Linked DNA regions of Homo sapiens: all the other regions are linked to region 2. The links are contacts of gene promoters, found by promoter capture Hi-C in blood cells and fetal thymus (Javierre and others, 2016). All regions are on one chromosome and are shown on one strand. The core of a region is centred on a gene start or on the middle of the fragment in contact, and the rest is flanking DNA. Distances in the headings are between cores, read along the strand shown.

Region 1 (2,700 bases), core at 1-2,500, 350 kb after region 2:
GGGGCAGTGAATGACCTCCTAAAGCTGTGTCCGCTCAGTGCCTCTGGGGGAAGCTGCCCCCTGTGAGCCTGGAGCTGGGTGTTCCCAGCAGGCGGAGTCCTTGACTCTGGAAGGCAATTGCCTTTGGCTTCAACAGTCCTGCAAGTCACAAGGCTTGTTGACCACGGTGACCCTTTCTGAGAGCCAGCGGAGGAAGAGGGCGGGCATAGGGTCAGGTCTTAAGAGATCAGGTCAGTCTGCTCAAACCAGGTGGGCTCAGGAGGAGCCGGCGAGGGTCCCGCTGCAGCTCCCGAAACGCTGTTTCCAGGCGGCAGTCAGCAGTTGGGCACGAGAGGATATCCTAGCAAGCCTCCATCCCAGAAAGTTACACCTCTTACTGCCCGAGTCCCACCCCTCAACACTGAGCCCACCTCTTCAGTCCTGTAGTGAGGGGTTCTGGGAACCCCTTGTAACTGCCCGCCTTCCTCGGAGGTCTCAGAGGCCCTAATTGCGTCTTCCGATGGGAACAACCATGAGAGCAGGGTGTGGACGGAAGTCCCCCAGCCCCAGCGGGGTTCACTCTTTGCCTCCTCACTCTGCGAGGGTCCCTTACTACAGCTAAAAGGCAATTCATGCAGTCCAAAGGCTCCTTTCCCCTCCCGTTCTGCATGCCCTTCTCACTGTCCCCAAATGCTCATGACATGGCCTTGAGAGCAGCGCAGCGGGCAGGAAGCCCAGGCGCCTCGGAGAACCTGAAGGGCTGCAGGTCCCGGTGTCTGCGGCAGCTTCCGCATCCCTGCAGGGAACCAGCGGCTCGCTGAGCCTGGGGCTGGGCTCTGGGGGACTCCAGAGCTGGAGGCAAGTGGCGCTCACATCCGTCTCCTCACCTGCCCCACCCGTGGCCTGGGTTTAAAATCCACATACCCGTCTTTCCGCGGCCAAAGTGATGCTGCCAGGATTGGTTATGACCCCAACTGCCCCGACCCCCAGAAGTGCAAAACGAACAGGCTGGCAAGTGACCAAAAGAGACCCGGGGAGCATCTGGGCTTCCAAGGTCCTCGGTACGGCCCAAGGCAGCGAAGGACGCGCGGCTCCAGGCTGCGGGAGCCAGGACGACCGGGGGCTCCCAGAGCGCGAAGTCGCGATCCTCGGCGGTGGAGAGCTCGTGCCAAAACGTCCTCCCCTGCGCCAGTCAGGCCTTCGCGGGGCTGGCAGGCGGGCGGGGGCGGGGCCGCCGCACTTTAAGAGGCTGTGCAGGCAGACAGACCTCCAGGCCCGCTAGGGGATCCGCGCCATGGAGGCCGCCCGGGACTATGCAGGAGCCCTCATCAGGCGAGTGCCCCGCGTCCCCCTGATTGCCGTGCGCTTCCAATCGCCTTGCGTTCGGTGGCCTCATATTCCCCTGTGCGCCTCTAGTACCGTACCCCGCTCCCTTCAGCCCCCTGCTCCCCGCATTCTCTTGCGCTCCGCGACCCCGCGCACACACCCATCCGCCCCACTGGTGCCCAAGCCGTCCAGCCGCGCCCGCGGGCAGAGCCCAATCCCGTCCCGCGCCTCCTCACCCTCTTGCAGCTGGGCACAGGTACCAGGTGTGGCTCTTGCGAGGTGCGCGGGCGTCTGCAAACCAGGTGACAGCTGGCGAGTGGCTGCATGCATCTCTGGCCGCTGCTGCAGTCGCGGGCGCAGAAGAGGGTCCGGTCCCAGGAACCCCGAGCAAAGCTTCCGCGATGCGAGGGGACCGGGCTTCTGGGGGTCCTGGAAATCACAACGGGAGCTGGGCGCGGGAGGGGCCCAGGCTTGGCCCCTCCTGGAAGCGCGGGCTCTGGTCTCCGAGGGGAGGCCCCAACCGTCCGGCGGAGCCCTCCAGGTTGGTGGTGCTGGGAGAAGCGCTCCTCCTTGCCTCCGGGTCCAAGGGCGGAGACGCTGCCTGGGGAGCAGGGGGGACAAGGGGCGGGTGGACCCTGAGGAGTCTTCCCTGCGCTTCGCACCCGCTCGTGGTCGAACAGGCAGCATTGGCTATTTTCCTGCTTGGGTTAATATTCATATCCCAACAGACCCAAGCCAATTCTTGGTAAAATCCTAAGTCATTGCGTGGCAGCAACTGTAAAGTAAGGTCTAAGAGGGAGATCGTGTTTCTCTGAAGATCAAGTACCTGGAAAAGGATAGAGAACCATTTGCGGGCTTGAAGGTGCAGGCGTTCAGCGGCGCCGGGTCCCACTGTGTGTGCTACGTGTGGCGGGCAGAGAGACTACATGTGTGAAAGGGAGCGGTCCGGCTACGAAACGCAATCTATGAGCTTCCAATCCCGGGTTCTTAAATGGGAGCTGTTGTAGACACTGCAGGTTAGAAGCATCTTTCTCTTTAAAAATAAGCCCACAGTACAAGTCGGGGCGGTGGCAGGGGGACGCTGAGAAACACCTGCTTCGTGTATGGTCATTAACACGCTTAGGCCTAAAGGTCAGGGCCCTGTATCTTTTGCGTTCTTCCAGAACCATCCACACCACAGTCCCACTTCCAGGAGGGGAGGTCTTAGCAGTTTGGAATGCGTCCTTCCAACCACTTTTCCAGTGAATTCACAACACACCCACTGTTCCTCCGGAGCATGGGGGAAGGAGGTGTGGGCTGACTCGCACTAACCAATCCTGGTTGGCCTCTGAGCAGGATTCAGGCTGAGCCTGTCCCTGCCTCTGACTATTATAACAGCTCACCAAAATCCAAAAT
Region 2 (2,700 bases), core at 22-2,521:
AACTTGTTTAGGCCATGATGGGAAGTGGGGGTGGAACTTGACACATTTCATCCTCCTCCCTTTTAGAATTCAGGAAAAGCAGACCAGCATTTAACATGCTGGACACTTAACTTACCTGGAGGCTTCATCTGCATGATAAAACTTCAGTCTCCACAGCCTCTTATTGTAACCCAAACATTCCTTTCCATTGATAATAAATCTTTCAACCAAATGCCAATCAGAAAATTTTCAATCTACCTATAACCCGGAAACCCCCGACCCACCCACCTCCTCAGCTGTCATACCTTTATGGACCGAACCAATGTACATCTTAATCTTACATGTATTTGACTGATGACTCATGGCTCCCCTAAAATGCATAAAACCACACTGGGCCCCGACCACCTTGCGTACGCGTTCTCAGGGTCTCCAAATGGCTGTGTCACCAGCCATGGTCACTCATATTTGGCTCAGAATTAATCCCTTCAAATATTTTATAGAGTTTTGACTTTTTGTCAACCGCAGGCTGCGTCACAGCTCGCTGCAGCCCCAAACTCCTGCGCTGAAGCGATCCTTTCCCCCACAACTTCTCGAGTAGCAGGGACTTCAGGTGCGTGCCACTACACCTGGCTTTTTTTTTTTTTTTTTTTGGTACTTTTGTTGTTATGGTGGGGGCGGGGGACTTGCTATGTTGCCCAGGCTGGTCTCGCATCTCTGGGATCAAGCCATCCTCCCACTTCAGCGTCCCAGAGTGCTGGAATTACAGGCCTAAGCAACGGCACCCAGCCTATCTTTTAATTTTTAACTTCAAAGTTATCGTTAAAAATCTAATCCCCCCAAAATATGAAAAAAATACTTAATATGCACTGACCTGTAGTTTTTCTCTAATTCACTATCTTAAATATATTAATTGCAATCTCATCAACTGCGACTTGCATTTGAAATTTTCCACCTTAAACGGTATTTTTTGATAAGATGGATTTTTTAAAAAATCTACACCAGCAAACTAGAGTGAGAGACCCCTGCAAAGTAATACATGGGCCTTAAGTCACCGAGATTTTCCAGCAAATAATTTGCAGAATGCTGTTTTTCCTAGGTTAACTTGCAATCCTAACACGGAAGGAGGTTCCGTTTTTAGAAGTTTAAATGTTGTCACACGGGCGCAAGAATACATACAACAGCCATGCTTTCCAGCTCTGCGCACAACGCCAGGCAGATGGGGAGCACCGGGCGGTGCGGGAGCCCTTTCACCAGGGCAGGGTGGCTTCGGTGGCCGAGGGACCCGGGAACTGCAGCCGGAGCCGGCGCGCACCCAGCCAACTTCCTGTTTCCGCGGTAGCGCGCGGGCCTGTCACTGAAGCCCCGCCCCGGCGACCTCAGGCGGGCGGGGAAGACCGAGTCTTCCCGGAGCCGCTTCGTCCGCCCGGCGCCGGAGTCCCACGGCCGGTTTGCGGAAGCGGGTCGTCTGAAGGGGCCCGGCGGGTGGCTCCCGGGTCTCCGCGGCCTGTGATCCCCAGAGCGGACAACCGCAGCTGGGGCTCCGTGCGCAACTCGGAGTAAAGGCCGGAACCTACGCTCGGCGGCCGCGTCCCGGCCCCTAGCGCCCTCCGCGAAGTGCCTGGCAGGCTCGGCAGTCTGAGTGTCGCGTTACAGAGTCCCCTGGGCAGTCACCGCTGAAGGGCGGGGGACGCGGGAAAGGCATTTTGGGGACACAGGAGAGCTGCGAGGGCGAAGCACGGGCGAGCTGTCGTTAGGGCCCAGGAAAGGCCCGTTGCGGGGCGCACAGGCGGGCAGGGGAACTCGCGCCCCGCGCCGCGCGCCCGGCCTCCTGACGCCAGGGCCGGCTTCTGAGCACAGCCACCGCGGCGGCCGGGGGCGGCCACTGCTCCCCGCGAGCCCGCTTCCGCGCCCCAGAAGCCCCCAGAGCCCGCGTCCGAGCTCCAGGCCTTGGAGGAGCCAGGCGGGCAGCTGACAGCCCCGGAGCCGCTCCCGGGTTCCGCGCGCGGTGGCAGCCAGGCCGTGCCTCCCCGTTCCCCTCCCGCGCCGCGCTGCCCCTCCGGGACCCACCAGGCCTGGCTGCGCCTCTTTCCTCTCCTCCCCCGGAGCCTTGGAAAGTGCCCTCCAGAGATGTGCTTAGGAAGTGTGTGATGAATAAAGGAGACAATCAGGATAACTATAATATTTATTATGCACTTGCTTTTTTCTCACTGATGTTACTAATTTTAATGGTGTAGCGCGGCGCGTTCCAGTTTTCTAAGTGCTCTCACATCCGTTCAAAAAATCCTCAAAATAAGCCTGTATATTAAAAGCAGGAGCCATTATTTCATATTTCAAGAAGTAAACATGCTCAGAGTAATAATCCACATAGAGCCTTCCAACCAGTCAATTCTGGTACATTTTCACAAATCTATGAGTGTGGTTAATACACGGAGATGTGGTTTGAGGAATTATATAGGACACAGCCAGCAAAATGCCTGGTATACAATAAGTATGCGGTAAATGGTTATTATTATTAAGAATATTGTAATATCTTCAGATATGATCAGGTGAACAACTTTGACATAATCGAAACTGGGACAGCCTGATTCCATAAACACACTAATATGGCACCGTGGATTGTTTGCAGCCTCACCTCTAAAGTATTCTCTCTGACTAACAAAGAAAGGGAAACTAGAACCAGTTAAGCTTATAACACTAATCACAGGCTAAAGGAAATACAGG
Region 3 (2,700 bases), core at 23-2,522, 400 kb after region 2:
ACCCAGGTGAGGGGCCTTGTCCTTGCCTGCCCCCTCCCTACAGGGCCACTGGGATGAGCCCACAGCTCCTAGATGGCACCTCAGCCCCCCGGACCTCAGGAGTCCCTGCCCAGACCTCCCCAAACCTACTCCTAGGGCCCCTTCTTCCCGCAGGGTGGCCTGGGATGGCTGTGAGTGGCTGAGGACTGAAGTGTCCACAGGCATGTACTGGAGACCCATCTCGGCGTGGGACAGAATTGGAGGTGGGGAGAAAGGCGGGTGTTGAAAGTGAGGACTGCAGGCTGAGACCAGCCCCCGCACTTCCACGCCCTGATGCAAATCAACGAGGAGCCCAAGAAGTCTACCGATTTCTTTTTTATTTTATTTTATTTTATTTTTATTGAGACGCGGTCTCACTCTGTCACCCTGGCTGGAGTGCAGTGACATGATCACAGCTCACAGCAACCTCCACCTCCCAGGTTCAAGCAATCAATCCTCCCACCTCAGACTCTGGAGTAGCTGGGTACAGGCATGTACCACCATGCCTGGCTAATTTTTTAACTTTTTGTAGAGACAAGGGTCTCACTATAATGCCCAGGCTGGTCTCGAGGTCCTGGGCTCAAGCAATCCTGCCATGTCAGCTTTGGAAGTTTTGGGATTACAGGCGTGAACCACTGTGCCCGGCCTAGCCTGAGAATTCTAAACTGGAACCTGGCTTTCCAGATACCATGGTGTATTTTTTAAGGTAGGAGAAGAGAATGTGTCCTCTACGCTTTTTTAAGTTTGGTTTGCGGCTTGTGTGCATTTGGACACACCGCGTCACAAACAGCCTCGCCCAGGAGGAGTGAGGGCCACAGATCGGGAGGGTAGGGGGCCCAGAGCCTGGAGAGCCCCAGGCCGGGCTCACAGGTCAGGGTTTCACCTGCCGGCTCCCAGAAGGGAGTGGCCAACAGACACCAGGGAAGTCAGGGTTGGGATTCAAAGAGAGGCCAAGGCTGCAGAGAGACTGGGAGCCACTTTAGGAAAGAAACGTGAATTCAGGCTTTGCACAGCAGAACTGTCCCCATGTCCTGGGGAGGCCTTGGTTCATTCTGCGGGGAAATCCCTTGTGTCTTGCGGGGCCCCGCCTCTGATGAGAGGGAAGGGAGATAAGCTTTGCAGGGGGAAGGTTTCCTCCCGGTCTCCTCACTCTTCGAGCACTGAGTTTCTCCAGACAAAGCGCACTCCGCGGGCACCAATCCCTGCAGACAGCGCAGAGCGCACAGCGAGCAGGAGCCCAGAAACCAGCAGGTCGGCTTGTCCCTTGTCAAATCCAAGTGACAACGGACTTCCGGAAGCCACGCTGACACCTACTTTCTGGCTCGATCAGACCCCTGGACTTAAATTCCAGCCCAAGGGCTAGCACTGAAAGGGTGGCTATTTCAGCAAACGACCAAAGCTTCTAAAGTAGACACTTTCTTTTAAACCACTTGATGGCTGGATTTCTTAGAGAGAGAGACTAAAGCTGGAGGAAGGGTTCTTCCAGGGATGGCACAGGCCCTCCGCTCTCGGGCTCCCCACACTAGACTTCGGGCCGGCAGGATGGGTTAAGGTAGCACTCGTTGGAGTCAATAATTAAGCAATGGAAACAAACAGCCTAAATAAGGGTGTTGAGGACTCAGGAGAAGGTGGCTGATTAATCTCAGGCTCATAGTTTGAAATGGGAGCGCAGGGGCTGGGCTGTGGCCTCCTCATCTGCTCCCTGGGCGTGTGGCTGTGTAAAGAGGTGTGGGGACCCACAAGAAGGCCGAGGAGCAGCACTGGGGTGGAGAGAGCAGTGGGGAGGCGGGGACCCAAGGGTTAAAAAAAAAAATTCCTCAATTTGGAAACATTTGCAAAACTCCAGAAGAAAAACTTTTAAAAGTTCTCCACTCCCTTCCAAACGTACAAACATGCACACACACAATTAGGAATTTCCCAAAGTTTTCATCTGTCTAAAAAGAAAGTGCCAGTGCAAATTACAGAACATCGTCGCTTCCTCATGTGCGGCGTTTCTACGGGCCTGGGAGGGGACGCAGAGGCTACCCCGGTGGTCCCAGCCTGCAGCGTTCACGTGAGGAAACTTCCGCAAAAGCCCTGATGCATGCACATTCTGACTGCAGAGGCCAGAGCATCCCGCATTTTGGAGGCTGAAAGGCTCCCCTAGGATAACCTTTTCCGTTAACAGAGGAGTCCGCTGAAGCGCAGAGCTAACTGAAAACAGCTAGAATTAAAATCCAAGTCACCCGGCCGGCATCAGCAGTCATTCCTTTCCACCACACAAAACTGGCCAGGAAGACGGACTCTGGCGCGCCCTCCCAGGCCGAAGCGCATTTCTTCGCTAACGCGCGAGGAGTAGGCTGCATAGACCCGGCGCAGGAGGTGTTCATTTTCGGATCCAGCCCTGTAGTCACTTTAGCTAAACCCGGTTCCAAAGGGGTGGGAGTCGTCGGAGAGGAATGGCCTCTGTATCTCCGGAGACGGAAACACCAGGACGAAGAGGCCCTAAGAACGTGTGCCCGGGGTGCGACCGGGGGGTGGGGGGCAGGGGGCAGAGACCCTGAAAAGCTCCACCGCCGAACCCCAGGGCAGTGTCCCGGCTTGGCTGGACTGGGCGCGGGCGGCTGCAATGCTCCCGGGCGCGGCGCTGGGACCCCGCGGGCCACGTCGGCTCCGCTGCCCCGACGCCAGGGCCCGACTCGC

Evidence for each region. The method cuts DNA at HindIII sites, captures the fragments that hold promoters and counts their contacts. A CHiCAGO score of 5 or more calls a contact.
Region 1: a contact is called between the fragment with the promoter of CIDEA here and the fragment with the promoter of MPPE1 in region 2, in 2 of 17 cell types (endothelial precursors and M0 macrophages). The highest score is 6.0, in endothelial precursors.
Region 3: a fragment that was not itself captured here is called in contact with the fragment with the promoter of MPPE1 in region 2 in 1 of 17 cell types (erythroblasts); the score reaches 5.5 in erythroblasts.

The regions. Positions count from the first base shown.
Region 1 is chr18:12,253,111-12,255,810 of GRCh38, forward strand. CIDEA (cell death inducing DFFA like effector a) reads left to right here and starts at 1,251. Exons shown (of 5, transcript NM_001279.4): 1 at 1,251-1,311. The coding sequence starts at 1,274. LOC105371996 (a long non-coding RNA gene) reads left to right here and starts at 1,903. Exons shown (of 2, transcript XR_935158.3): 1 at 1,903-2,321; 2 at 2,469-2,700. RefSeq lists an enhancer at 387-993. The HindIII fragment of the contact is 8,350 bases long and covers 1-1,696 here.
Region 2 is chr18:11,907,046-11,909,745 of GRCh38, forward strand. It overlaps MPPE1 (metallophosphoesterase 1), which reads right to left and starts at 1,272. Exons shown (of 11, transcript NM_023075.6): 1 at 1,156-1,272. RefSeq lists a silencer at 1,665-2,064. The HindIII fragment of the contact is 5,797 bases long and covers 1-2,662 here.
Region 3 is chr18:12,305,260-12,307,959 of GRCh38, forward strand. It overlaps a transcript of TUBB6 not described here. Among named protein-coding and RNA genes, the nearest start is that of TUBB6, 1.6 kb to the right of the region's middle. RefSeq lists a silencer at 2,468-2,700. The HindIII fragment of the contact is 285 bases long and covers 1,131-1,415 here.